2 separate regions of the Homo sapiens genome follow, and region 1 is linked to region 2. The links are contacts of gene promoters, found by promoter capture Hi-C in human tissues and cell types (Jung and others, 2019). All regions are on one chromosome and are shown on one strand. The core of a region is centred on a gene start or on the middle of the fragment in contact, and the rest is flanking DNA. Distances in the headings are between cores, read along the strand shown.

Region 1 (6,272 bases), core at 260-2,759, 540 kb before region 2:
TTTGCCCACTTTTTTTTTTTTTTTTTTTCTGAGATGGAGTTTCGCCTTGTTGCCCAGGCTGGAGCGCAGTGGCGCGGTCTCGGCTCACCGCAGAGGCCTCCTGGGTTCAAGCAATTCTCCTGCCTCAGCCTCCCGAGTAGCTGGGATTACAGGCATGCGCCACCATGCCCAGCCAATTTTGTCTTTTTAGTAGAGATGGGGTTTCTCCATGTTGGCATGGCTGGTCTCAAACTCCTGACGTCAGGTGATCCGCCCGCCTTGGCCTCCCAAAGTGCTGGGATTAAAGGCGTGAGCCATCGCACCCGGCCTGCCTACGTTCTAAATGGCTTGTTTTGAGAGTTCTTTTATGTATGAGTCCTTTGGGAGATATGCAGTTACTAGTATTTTTTTCCAATTTCTTAGTTTTTTTATCCTCTTAACAGAGTCTTTTTGCAGAGCAAAAGTTTTATGTTTTGATGAAGTCCATTTTATCAGTTTTTTTTCTTTTATGGATCATGTTTTTGATGTCAACTCTAAGTCCCAAGATTTTGTCCTATTTTTTCCTAAAAGTTTTAAAGTGAATATTAGGTGATGTAAAAAATTTTGTGTTAGTTTTTTTAACTATAATGGTAGTGTGTGTTTTTAGAGATGCCTTTTAGAAATAACATTGAAATATTTACAGATGAAATAATGTGGTGTTTAAGATTTGCATCAAAATAATATAATACAGGAGGGGATGAAATAGAGTATAGAAGAAGCAAGATTTGCTGTGAGTTGATAATTAGTGAAGCTGGGTGATGTATATGTGGGGCTTCATTGAACTATTTTGTCTAACTTTGTGTAGGTATGAACTTTTCCATAAAAAGCTTAAGAAAATTATCTGTTAAACCATTCATTGGTGTTAACTTGAGATTAAGTGAGTTGTAGAGAAAGATGTCTCTTTCAGCCTCCGTGGTTAGCTTGGCCTGCAACTGTCCTCCAGCATTCATCTATGACTATTGTTCTGTTCACCTGTCTCCATAGTGGATGCTTGGAGATTTGTGCTTTTGTTTGTGAAACATATTTCAATGATTTTGTGTCACTGGATAAAACAGTGATTCTTCAGATTTGAGAAGAGGGAGTGAAGGGTGGCACATGTAGTTGGAAAAAGCATATTCAGTATGATAGTTTTATGTTTGAAAATAAGAAGGGTTTATTGATAGTTGTAGTATAATCTGCAAAGACAATATCTTGGCTGGGAATCTGTACCAAGGTAATAATTCTAAGTGGAAGGTCTACCTCCCCAAAAGCTTTTGTGTTATAATTATCAAAAGGCAGCAAGGGGCCAGGCGCAGTGGCTCACGCCTGTATTCCCAGCATTTTGGGAGGCCGAGGCGGGTGGATCACCTGAGGTCAGGAGTTTGAGACCAGCCTGACCAACGTGGTGAAACCTCGTCTCTAGTAAAAATACAAAAACTAGCCCAGCATGGCAGTGTTCGCCTATAATATCAGCTACTAGGGAGGCTGAGGCAGGAGAATCACTTGAACCTGGGAGTGGGAAGCTGCAGTGAGCCGAGATCATGCTGCTACACTCCAACCTAGGCAATAGAGTGAGACCCTGACTCCAAAATTTTTTAAAAAAAAATTTTCAGTATAAACAAAACTTTCACCAGCCCTGCTTTTCTTTCCTTAAGAAAAGCTTCCCAAAAGAACTGTCTACATGCCCCACAACAAATCACAATCACTGTTAACTGGTATCCGACTCTACTCCCGCTATCCACCAACACGCAGCAGCCAGAGTCAGCTTTTAGAACATCAACATTTAATCACTAGTCTCCATCTAAAAAAAAAAAAAAAACCCCAAAACAAAAAAACCCCCCAAAAAAAACAAAAGGCAGCAAGGATGAGAAGCATTATTATGGAAGTCAAGACCACCCCTGTAAGGGCCAAGGTTATGCTACCTTTTACAGAAAATGAGCCTTGAAGGCAAAACATAGCATCATAGTTGAACTTGAAAGTAAGAAAGAAAAACAGTATGAAAGATATCTCTCTTATACACACACTGCCATGTAATTGATATAGATATCAACTTGATAAATTAAAAAAATACAGCTGGGCACGGTGGTTCACACCTGTAATCCCAGCACTTTGGGAGGCTGAGGTGGGCGGATCACGAGGTCAAGAGATTGAGACCATCCTGGCCAACATGGTGAAACCCCGTCTCTACTAAAAATACAAAAATTAGCTGGGCATGGTGGCGCGCACCTGTAGTCCCAGCTACTTGGGAGGCTGAGGTGGAAGAATCGCTTGAATCCGGGAGCTGGAGGTTGCAGTGAGCCGAGATTATGCCACTGCACTCCAGCCTGGCGACAGAGCCAGACTCCATCTCACCGAAAAAAAAAAAAAAAAGTCAGTCAAAACAGTCAGTCCTCGTTTTTGTGGGTTCTGCATCTGCAGATTCAACCAACTATGGATCAAAATATTTGGAAAAAACAGTAAAAAATAACACAATTTAAAATACAGTATAACAACTATTCACATAGCATTTACATGGTACTATGTAGTATAAGTGATCCAGAGATGACTTAAGGTATATTGGAGGATGTGTGTAGATTATATGCAAATACTGTGCCATTTCGTATACAAGACTTGAACATACGTGGATTTCGGTATCCATGGGAGTCCTGAAACCAATCCCCTGTGGATATTGAGGGATGACTGTATATAAAATATGATTAAGTAATACACATACAAATATCTTAAGTATTTGTAAGTGTTTTGAACACCTACCTTAGTGGAAGATTATAGAGGTTTTGAAAAATAAAAAGCCTATCTTAACAATAGTTATTCTGGAATTCTTAAAAGCCAGGCTATTTTAGAATCCATAAAACATCTGTTTATTGTGAAAGTTGTGTAAAGGGTCAATCTGTAAATCAGTGTAAGTACCTAGTGGAATGTGAATGCTTTACCTTTTATCCACTGAACTTATGTTTTTTTAAAACCTGCTTAAAGGCTTGGACTTCCAAATACATTCTGATCACATTAGTAATTTTTTAGTTGACCACTGTAGGCATTTGCCAATAACTAGTATTAATGTAGTGGACCCAGAATCCCATTTTACTTGTGCTGCTCTTTTTATGCCCTCTCTTTTTAAAAGTGGGCATCATTCACCATCCTTGACAACCATTTTATCCAATCTAAAGCTGCTGCAGGAGAACCACCTGCTGAGCATCACCTGGAGGTTCTCCCTGTTCAAGTATAAGGCTTATGCTCTGACAGAGGGAACTTTATCCACTTATGACCCCCAAGTTAATTTAAGATGCAGGATTTGATTTATCAAGCTTACGTGTTAGTTCCTAGTTGTCTAGGATCTGTTTCTGGTTCCAGATACAGCCAAAGATGTGGTAGCAATTCTAATCAAATTGATGTGCTTTGCTAAGGATTTTGAAATTGAAACTTAGATCACTTTTCGAAGAAAGGGCCTAATCTCTGAAATTTCCCTCTGTCTACAGTTCCTATAAGATCCATATTTGTTGGCTATCAGGTCAGTGTTAAAGGTAATCTTTTAAGCTTCGAATTGCAGATTTATATAAATTATACATGGTTGTTCTAAATTTTTTTTTTGAGACAGAGTCTCGCTCTGTCGCCCAGGCTGGAGTGCAGTGGTGCAATCTTGGCTCACTGCAAGCTCCGCCTCCTGGGTTCACGCCATTCTCCTGCCTCAGCCTCCCGAGTAGCTGGGACTACAGGTGCCCGCCACCACGCCTGGCTAATTTTTTGTATTTTTAGTAGAGATGGGGTTTCACCGTGTTAGTCAGGATGGTCTCAACCTCCTGGCCTCGTGATCTGCCCGCCTTGGCCTCCCAAAGTTCTGGGATTACAGGCGTGAGCCACCACGCCCGGCCCTAATTTTGTAAATGGTTGTATAATCAGGATTTGCCATGGCAAAGATTGTGGTTCCTAAGCCCATTTCTGGACCAATTATTGCCCCAAGGTTTATTTTCTCGGAGTTGTTTACTTCTCAAAGAAAAACTTGTAAAAATTCTTGCACACTAAAGTGTTAAAGCTTTAATGTGTTAACACATTGTCAAGAGTACTACATTGGAATTTTGAAAGGCTGGGTAGTAGAATCATGACTATGCTTAACACAAAGTATAGTCATGCACCGCATAACAACATTTTGGTCAACCACAGACTGCATGTACAGTGGTGATACCAAAGATTATAATACCATATTTTTTCTGTACCTTTTTTATATGTACACATTTTTAGATGCACAGATACTTACCATTGTGTTACAGTTGCCTGCAGTATTCAATATAGTAACCTGCTGTACAGGCTTGTAGCCTAGGAGCAATAAGCTATCCCATATAGCCTAGGTGTACAGTAAGCTATATCATCTAGGTTTGTGTAAGTACATTCTATGCTGTTTGCACAAGGAAATCGCCTACCAATGCATTTCTTAGAACCTAACCCTATGGTTAAGCAACGCATGACTGCAGTCACTTATGTAACCAGCCTGGCTGCCGTGCTATGGAGATAAAGAGCAGATTGGGCAACCAGCTATCCTGCCTGCCAGTAAGCTGTAGTTGATTATACTACTGACCAGTGATGCGTATAACTTTTGAGGTTTTTTTTTTTTTTTTTTAATGCGTCTAACTTTTTTTTTTTTTTTTTGAGACAGGGTCTGGCGCTGTCTCCCAGGCTGGACTGGAGTGCAGTGGCATGACCTCGGCTCATTGCAACCTCCGCCTCCCAGGTTCAAGCGATTCTCCAGCCTTAGCCTCCCGAGTAGTTGGGATTACAGGTGCCTGCCACCACACCCAGCTAATTTTTGTATTTTTAGTAAAGATGGGGTTTTACCATGTTGGCCGGGCTGGTCTTGAACTCCTAACCTCAAGTGATCCACCCACCTTGGCCTCCCAAAGTGCTGGGATTACAGGCATGAGCCATCACACCCAGGCTTGATTAGTATAACTTTTAAGGGTTTTTTTTTTTTAATACATGTGAAACCAAACAGCACAGGGCCCAATACATTGCTCTGTCGCCTTGCTCTGTCACCAGGCTGGAGTGCAGTGGCGTGATCTCCACTCACTGCAACCTCTGCTTCCCAGGTTCAAGTGATTCTTCTGCCTCAGCCTCCCAAATAGCTGGGACTACAGGCACGCGCCACCACGCCCAGCTAATTTTTGTATTTTTAGTAGAGACGGGGTTTCACCATGTTGGCCAGGATGGTCTCGATCTCTTGACCTCGTGATCCGCCCCCCTCGGCCACTCAAAGTGCTGGGATTACAGGTGTGAGCCACTGCGACCGGCCGCCGAATACGTTTTCATGATTACAAATTAATGGTTTAATTGTCCATTGATGAAAATTATGCATGTGAAGTTTGGCGAGGTCTACTGTAAATATGAATTACTTTAAAGATGACTTTCTTTTGAAGCTCATTTGATATAGTCATCGTTGGTGGCGGAATTGTGGGGCTTGCCTCTGCCAGAGCACTCATCCTGCGACATCCATCACTTTCTATTGGTGTTCTGGAAAAGGAGAAAGATTTAGGTATGTATATAATCAATGTTGTTCTTTGGGCTTACTTGGGCATCTGCTCATTTTGTCTGTTGTGAATCTTTCATGCTGAATGTCAGTGTTAGTTTCTTAGTTTGTGTTCTAAAAGCAGAGTGTGGGACAAGGACATGGCTATAGGTTATTTGAGAGGTTAAAGCCGAGTGTGGGACAAGGAGGACGTGTCTATAGGTTATTTATTTGAGAGGTTATCTCAGGAAACAGGAGTGAGGGGGTGAGGAAAGTAAGACAGGGAAGGAGGAAAAGACATGAGAACACATCAAGATTGTGGCTGTGAGCTTGATTCCACCGGAGCCTCTGAGGAGCAATGTAGTATTTCCCAGGATTGTGCTCACTTTATCCATCGGCTCTTCTCTCTATTGGTTGAGGATTGCCGCTAGTGATGTTGAGCACCCCGTGCCCTTCTCTAAAAAAGTTACCAGAGGCCCCAAGGCAGAGTGCAAAGAGCCCTAGGGGGCCCCTGAAGTGGTTTGCTGGTAATGAGAGGTGAGTTTGTGCACCAAAGTTGTAGTTGAAATCAGAGATGGGCTGGAGGGATGTGACATGGATACCAGGGATGTTAGAAGAAGTTACCAGTGATCTGAACAAATTCAGGCAGAATTTTACATGATGTGGTCTCTAATAGCTTCAACTATAAGTTTGTTCTCTTACCTCTTATGTTTTGTATGAATCATGTACTTACTCTTACCCTGTTTCTCTTGTTCTGTAGCTGTTCACCAGACTGGACATAACA
Region 2 (6,985 bases), core at 3,347-5,846:
CTCACCTAAGGTGAGCTGCCTGCCTCGGCCTCCCAAAGTGCTGGGATTACAGGCGTGAGCCACAGCATCCAGCCTAACTGTTAAGTGGGACTACTACGCTAATTCTGAGATCTACAGTAAGTAAAATATTTAAAGCATAAAGTTCTCACAAAGCACACCATGGGGAAAACTACTTTGTAAATCCGCAACCATGGCTAACCCAGCATTTTGAGAAACACCTTGATTCTACCAGGGACATGCTCTTGACTACTACTGTTATGAAACTGCAAAAGATCATTTCAGATTATCTCCAGTTTACAAAAAGGGCAAACTGGAGGTCATTTTGGTTTTTAAACAGAACAACACTATTTTTAAAAAGATTTGCATGCAAATTTTGAGAGCTTATTAAAATAGAATACCACCTTTATTTTTAGCAGATAAAATTCTATACAATCTAAAATCTAACAATTTAACCATTTATAAATTCCTTTCCTTATTCAAGAGATCATATAACAGAAGACTTAACATCTTGAAAAAAATGGAACACTTATTTTTCCATTCTGGATCTGAAGCCTCTACATCTATTTTAAATATTACTATGATACTTGAGATAGAAATTTATTCTAAGTTCATAAAAGTATCTAGTAACTACAGAACAGGTGCTAAATTAAGCTTAGCAGCTAAGCTAAAGTAGCAGAACAGTGTTTTTAGAATATATAAGTAGCTTAGAAAGTGTTTTACATTTTTTTCTTTGCAGCCATATCTGATTTGTTTGTTTTTGGAGACAGTTTTGCTCTGTCACCCAGACTGGAGTGCAGTGGCTCGATCTCAGCTCACTGCAACCTCCGCCTCCCAGATTCAAGCGATTCTCCCACCTCGGACTCCCAAGTAGCTGGAATTAGCACGCCACCATGCCTGGCTAATTTTTGTATTTTTAATAGAGATGGGGTTTCACCCCAGCCTGGTGTTGAACTCTTGACCTCGAGAGATCCGCCCGCGTTGGCCTCCCAAAGTGCTGGGATTATAGGCATGAGCCAGCCACCGTGCCCAGCCCTTATCTGAATTTTTTAGTCCCCCTTATAATATCCACATTTACCATCTTCCAGTCTCCATGTTGTAGATCCATAGTTCTTCTCTAGGCAGATAAAAGTCATATAATCCTCTGACTTGATTACTCTAAGAATAAAAAAAATTGTAAATATAAAAACTGGTATTTTAAAGAGGCACTACTGTATTTTTTAAATCGATCTTGAGATACTAATTTCATAATTAGTATGAAAAATAGGTATTACAGTGCACAATCCTCCCCCACCCATGCCACACACTCAAGGTAAAGCTCAACATAGATAGCTCTTAATTCAGAATTTTGATACAGCAGTTGCAATAGGACAAGAAGAGATCTCTGGGAACTTTTTTTTTTTTAGTCCAAGTCTCTATTGCTCAGGATGGAGTGCAGTGGCGCAATCTTGGCTGGCTCACTGCAATGTCCACCTCCTGGGTTCAAGTGATTCTCCTGCCTCAGCCTCCTAAGTAGCTGGGACTGCACGCACTCGCCATCACGCCTGGCTAATTTTTGTATTTTTAGTAGAGACAGGGTTTCACCATGTTGGCCAGGCTGGTCTCAAACTCCCAACCTCAAGCAATCCACCCACCTCAGCCTCCCAAAGTGCTGGGATTACAGGCTGTGAGCCATTGTGCCCAGCCAAGAGATCTCTGGGAACTCTCTAAGGCAGCTTTATCCTGAACAGAACCATGCACCAAATTTCAGCTGCATGACTTCAGGAGACTGCCTGTGCCATGGTCAGCAGGCTGTTACTGAAAGTGCCTGATCCACGCTAACACGATGCGTGGTTTTCTAGCCATGCCTTCCTTTCACCTATCCATTCTCTAAGCAGCAATAGAGAGGGCAGAACTGCAAATATGCAAAATATTAAATCCTTATGCAGAATTTTAAGTTCTTTGTTCTGCTCCATTTCCCTTCAGGTATTAATTCCTAACACAGACTGAGCCTACCATATGCCACAGCTGAAAGCTATCCATGGATTGCTTTATTTAATCCTCACAACAACCCTAAAAAGTAGCTGATGTTATGAGAAAACAAGTTTAGAGTTTAAGTAATTTGCCCAAGGTTATTTATGAAGTAATGATGGAGCCAGGATTCTATCCTTTCCCTGAACTTTAACAACTGCCTGACATTCCCAGCCTTTGACCCTCCCTAGCCACTTTCTGAACAATGTTGACACAGTAAACGACTGCGGTTAGCCAAAAATGGGTGTCAAAGTCCAGCAAGCTTGAATATTAAACATACAGAAACAGAACAGTTGACCACGTAAAACAACTTCTTTTTCCACCCCACCAGTGATGAAGGGAAAGGCTGGAAGCGGGCTGACCCACAGGGGACCAGCCTGTCCTGGGGAGGAAAACTGCCTACTATGTAGGAAGCCAAGGTTTATTGCCTTTGAAACAATCTCCAAGGACTTCTGTGCCTACCCTCAGGGTTCCAGCCACCAGCCATAAATGGGGAGGGCAGTCTGTTTCAGAACCATCCAATTCAGTGATTGTGCTGCTCCTCCCTGAATCGGCCCCAATCATCCAGGCCCTTTTAAATCCACAAGAAATATTCCACACTAAGAATCCTCCCCTGCCCCACTCCCAAAGTCTTATTCTCTCATGCTGTCATTTTAAAAATACAATTATGAATTAGGTAGCTTAGAAGTGTCATTGACAGGTTTCTCCAGGGGAATTAATTTACATTTTTATAAGGGTGACTACATGCTTGCCCCCCCGCCCCCCTTCTTGCAATTCTCTACCCCTTTCTAAAGTATTTTTGAGACAGTTTCCTTCTTGTTGCCCAGGCTGGAGTGCAATGGCGCCGTCTCAGCTCACTGCAAACTCCGCCTCCCTGGTTCAAGTGATTCTCCTGCCTTAGCCTCTCAAGTAGACGGGATTAGGGCGCCCGTCACCACGCCAGGCTAATTTTTTTTTTTGTATTTTTAGTAGAGACGGAGTTTCACTATGTTGGCCAGGCTGGTCTCGAGCTCCTGACTTCAGCTGATCCACCTACCTTGGCCTCCCAAAGTGCTAGGATTACAGGCGTGAGCCACCGCGCCCGGCCCCCTTTCTATTTTCTAACCACATTCATTGGAAACTGGGGAAAACACTGCAGATTCATTAGGATTGGCAAAAAATTACTTTTGCAGTTAAACCAAAATAAAGTATCAGGACAGCCATCTTTGAAAGCTATCTCAAAAATGGTCAACTATGATCAAGTCAGCTGTACCATAAGCTAAAAACAATCACAAAGCAAGTCATCCAAGGCACGGGCGTGGGGAGGGCGGAGAACATTTTCAAGACCAAAGAGGAATTTTGTGGTAGGACTGGCTCAGAGCCATCCTAGCAAATAAAATTCTAGATTTCCGAGGTTAGCAGGGTAAAGAATGGCAACTGGCTTTAAACTGCTAACTAATCACGTTGTTTATAACCAGGGGATCGGAGAGTCAAAGAGCTGCACTCTGTAGTTCATTTGATGCTGGGGATTTTTTGGTTACTGGTGGAGCTTTTCCATTATCTTAATAGGGGTGTCTGCTGAAAAACTTCAACCCAGCTGAAGCCAGAAGGAAAACAGTCCTGATGGCCATTTGCACAGGCGGGAAGGCTGAATAAGGTGGTTCCTGTAACCTTTTGGAATTCCAGTTTTCCTACACCTCGGCCTCCCTGTAAGTGGGCAGCGGTTCCCAGCTCCAGAGGGTGAAGTCCTCGTAGGCCGTCCTCATAACGCGTCTGAGTGATATCACACACCGTCACCTTTCACACCCCAACCCTTCCGAATGCACCGCCCAAGCAACATTAACAGGGCCTTCCCCGGAATAACGCTCCAATGGCAACAACGGGGGTGGGAGTGAGTTGGCTTTGTGAGCACCAGGGTGACATGACAGCAGCCCTGGAGGTTCGAGACGGGTTGGGGTACTCGAGAGAAGGAAGATTCCCGCGCGCAAAAAAAAAACAACCAACGGGCAGAGTCTGAGGTGGGGCGCGCGACGCAGGCGGGGAGCGCCCTCGGCGGCCCGCTCTGGCCTCCCCGCCTGGCCGCGAACGCAGACCCGAGTCACAGCCGAGCGACGTCCGTCGCGGCCCGGCCACTCACTGACCTTGTAGCCGCCCCAGACGAACATGTGGCGCCCGTCGCTGACGGCTACGTGGCCGCTGCGCTCAGCGGGGCAGGCAAGCTCCATGGACTCATAGCTCTCGAAGGCTGGCCCAGGCAAGTCGTCAGCCCGCAGATCCTCGTTGCCATCAGCCATCTTGAGGCTGCACTTTTGCTAACCAACAATGCCCACACCCGCGAGGGGCCAAAAAAACAAAGGAAAAGGAGAGAAATGCACAGCGGCGCGAGGCAAGGAAAAGGCGGTGGCGAAAGGGACGGCGTTGAGGCCTCTCTGCCGCCTGCGCTCGCGTTTCCCAGCCTCCTCGGCCGAGGACGGCTCTCCGCCGCCGCCGGGGCACGCCTGCAGACAGAGGGGCCGCGAGCGGAGCCGGGCGGCGGCGGCGCGGGCCCGGGACTCGGGGCACTGCAGGGAAGCGGTCCGCGTCGGGCCGGCTCCCTATTGCAGCCCGTCTGCCCCGCCTCCTGCAGTCCACGGCCTTGTTTACGCCGCGGCCGGAAGCCGCCCGTTCCGCTGACGCCGCCCGCCGAGCTCCGGAAGCGAGGCTGCCGCTCAGCGCCCCCAGCGCCGGGTCCTCCAGCCGCCGCCGCCGCCGCCGCCGCCTCTGCCCGCGCCTCCGCCTACGGCCTGGGCACCGCAGATCTATGGGGCCCGGCGACTTCTAGTCGCGCTTCGAGTCTCCTTTCACTGAGGGAACCACAGGGATAATGTCCTGAATCGGTCCCTGAAAGCTGCTGAATTTTAGCCGGATTGCCGCAATTTTTTTTTTCTTCCCGAGGATTTCTATTCGTTTGATTGAGGGATGATCTCAGAGGGTTCACAGCCCGGGCAGGGGCACCAGAATTGCTCCACTAGCAAGTTTCTGGTCTCGCCTTAGAGTCGATGCAGGCCCTGCTGTTCTGCGGGCGCGAGGGCAGTCGCTTAGCTCTCACGTGGGGCCCAGCCCGATCCCCGGGGGCCTCTCCTGAGCTCCTGCCGCCCCTGCCGGGCGCCGCCTCTGCGGGAATCTGACGTTGCCGCCGCCGCCGCTGCCGCCGCCAGCCGGGCTGCAGAGTTGGCTTGAAAAGCGTTTCCGAAGCCGTAACCACCCTTTTCTTCAGAAAGAAAGGCGGATCCTTTTCACGCACACACAGCTTTCTCTTATATGATACCTTTCAATTGGGCCAAAAGAAAATTACGAGTTACTGTGCTTGATACCTCACCTGTAAAATAGGGTGGGACAAAAATAATCTTAAATTCTTGATCTTACAGTGCCTGTAGAATTTATCGTGTTTGGTAGGAGGGACGTGCTTCATTATCTCCATTTCCCTCATCTTCTGGTTGGGAGCACTCCATAGAAAAGGAACACTTTGAACAATAAAAGGCTTTTTTTTTTTAATTATTAAAATGCTTATAGCCTGCCACTCCTCCCCTAGTGTGCCAGTGTGTTTACTTGAACTCAAGAACTTGAAAGTTACTTAAGAGGATTAATTAAAGCCTTCAACAAGGAAGCAAATCACCTTGAGGCTGTTAAGACCTTATCTGCCATCCACCCTGGTTGGTGCCCTCAAATCTGTCTGGTTCACAGAATTCCTTGCAGCAGTGTCTTCTCCCAGTCGAATTATGCTCACTAGACTTTGGGGTTATCGAAGTTCCTTGTGAACCAACCTCGTGAATCTGATCGAGTCACTTAAAAACCTTGAGCTGGCTCCCGTCGTCCTTAGTAGAATCCAAAATTAATATCTCGGCTGGGCGCGGTGGCTCACGCCTGTAATCCCAACACTTTGGAAGGCCGAGGCAGGCGGATCACCTGAGGCCAGGAGTTCGAGACCAGCCTGGCCAAAATGGCGAAACTCTGTCTCTACTGAAAATACAAAAAAATTACACAGGCTTGGTGGCCGGCGCCTGTAATCCCAGCTACTTGGGAGGCTCAGGCAGGAGAAACTCTTGAAGCCGGGAGGCGGAGGTTACAGTGAGCCAAAAGGGCACCATTGCACTCCAGCCTGGGCAACAAGAACGAAACTCCGTCTCAAAAAAAAAAAAAAAAAAAAAAAAAAATTCATATCACAGTGCTGTGCAAGAAGACCCAGCATGGTCCAGACCCAGCTTGCCTTTCCAGCTTCAATTCCTGGCTGTGTCCTCCTTCCAGCTACATTACCCTTCTATCATCGTTTTTGTTTTTTGTTTGTTCGAGAGAAGTCTCGCTCTTGTCCCCCAGGCTTGAGTGCACTGGCTCGATCTCGGCTCACTGCAACCTCCGCCTCCCGAGTCCAAACGATTCTCCTGCCTCTGCCTCCCAAGTAGCTGGGACTAAGGCACCTGCCACCACGCCCGGCTGATTTTTGTATTTTTTAGTAGAGATGGGATTTCACCATGTTGGCCAGGCTGGTCTCGAACTCCTGACCTCAGGTGATCCACCCGCCTCGGCCTCTCAAAGTGCTGGGATCACAGGCGTGAGGCACCGCACCCACCCAGCCTATATTTCGTATATATATGCCATTTAATAAAATACTATAATATCCACTTTGATTTACTTATTTATGTTTCAAACCATACTTTTATCCTACTTAGAGCAGTAACAACAAAAAGAGTCTCTGAAACACATTAATTAGTTGTACTATAAGCAGAGTTTCTCAGTGTATCAAAGTATAGTTCCAAGCCCCGTGGGTACCTGGAGACCTTTTCAGGGGCTCCTTAAGGAACTCTCTTTTCTAACTATGTATCTGTGTGAGGCCAGATTTTCTTCACTTAAGTCGGCCTGGCGCAGTGTCTCATGCCTATAATCCCAGTATTTTGGGAGGCTGAGGTGGGCGGATCACTTGAGGTCAGGAGTTCGAGACCAGCCTGATCGACATGGTGAAACC

Evidence for each region. Contacts are between HindIII fragments. The study calls those that stand out against the background at their distance.
Region 1: a contact is called between a fragment that was not itself captured here and the fragment with the promoter of KLHDC2 in region 2, in 2 of the 25 tissues and cell types used here (dorsolateral prefrontal cortex and hippocampus).

What each region holds. Positions count from the first base shown.
Region 1 is chr14:50,302,145-50,308,416 of GRCh38, reverse strand. It overlaps L2HGDH (L-2-hydroxyglutarate dehydrogenase), which reads left to right. Exons shown (of 10, transcript NM_024884.3): 2 at 5,400-5,515; 3 at 6,249-6,272. Among named protein-coding and RNA genes, the nearest start is that of MIR4504, 5.3 kb to the right of the region's middle. The HindIII fragment of the contact is 4,534 bases long and covers 1-3,776 here.
Region 2 is chr14:49,765,764-49,772,748 of GRCh38, reverse strand. It overlaps KLHDC2 (kelch domain containing 2), which reads right to left and starts at 4,596. Exons shown (of 13, transcript NM_014315.3): 1 at 4,128-4,596; 2 at 1,076-1,155. The coding sequence starts at 4,280. RefSeq lists silencers at 4,367-4,546, 4,717-4,796, 5,137-5,196. The HindIII fragment of the contact is 15,286 bases long and covers 1,461-6,985 here.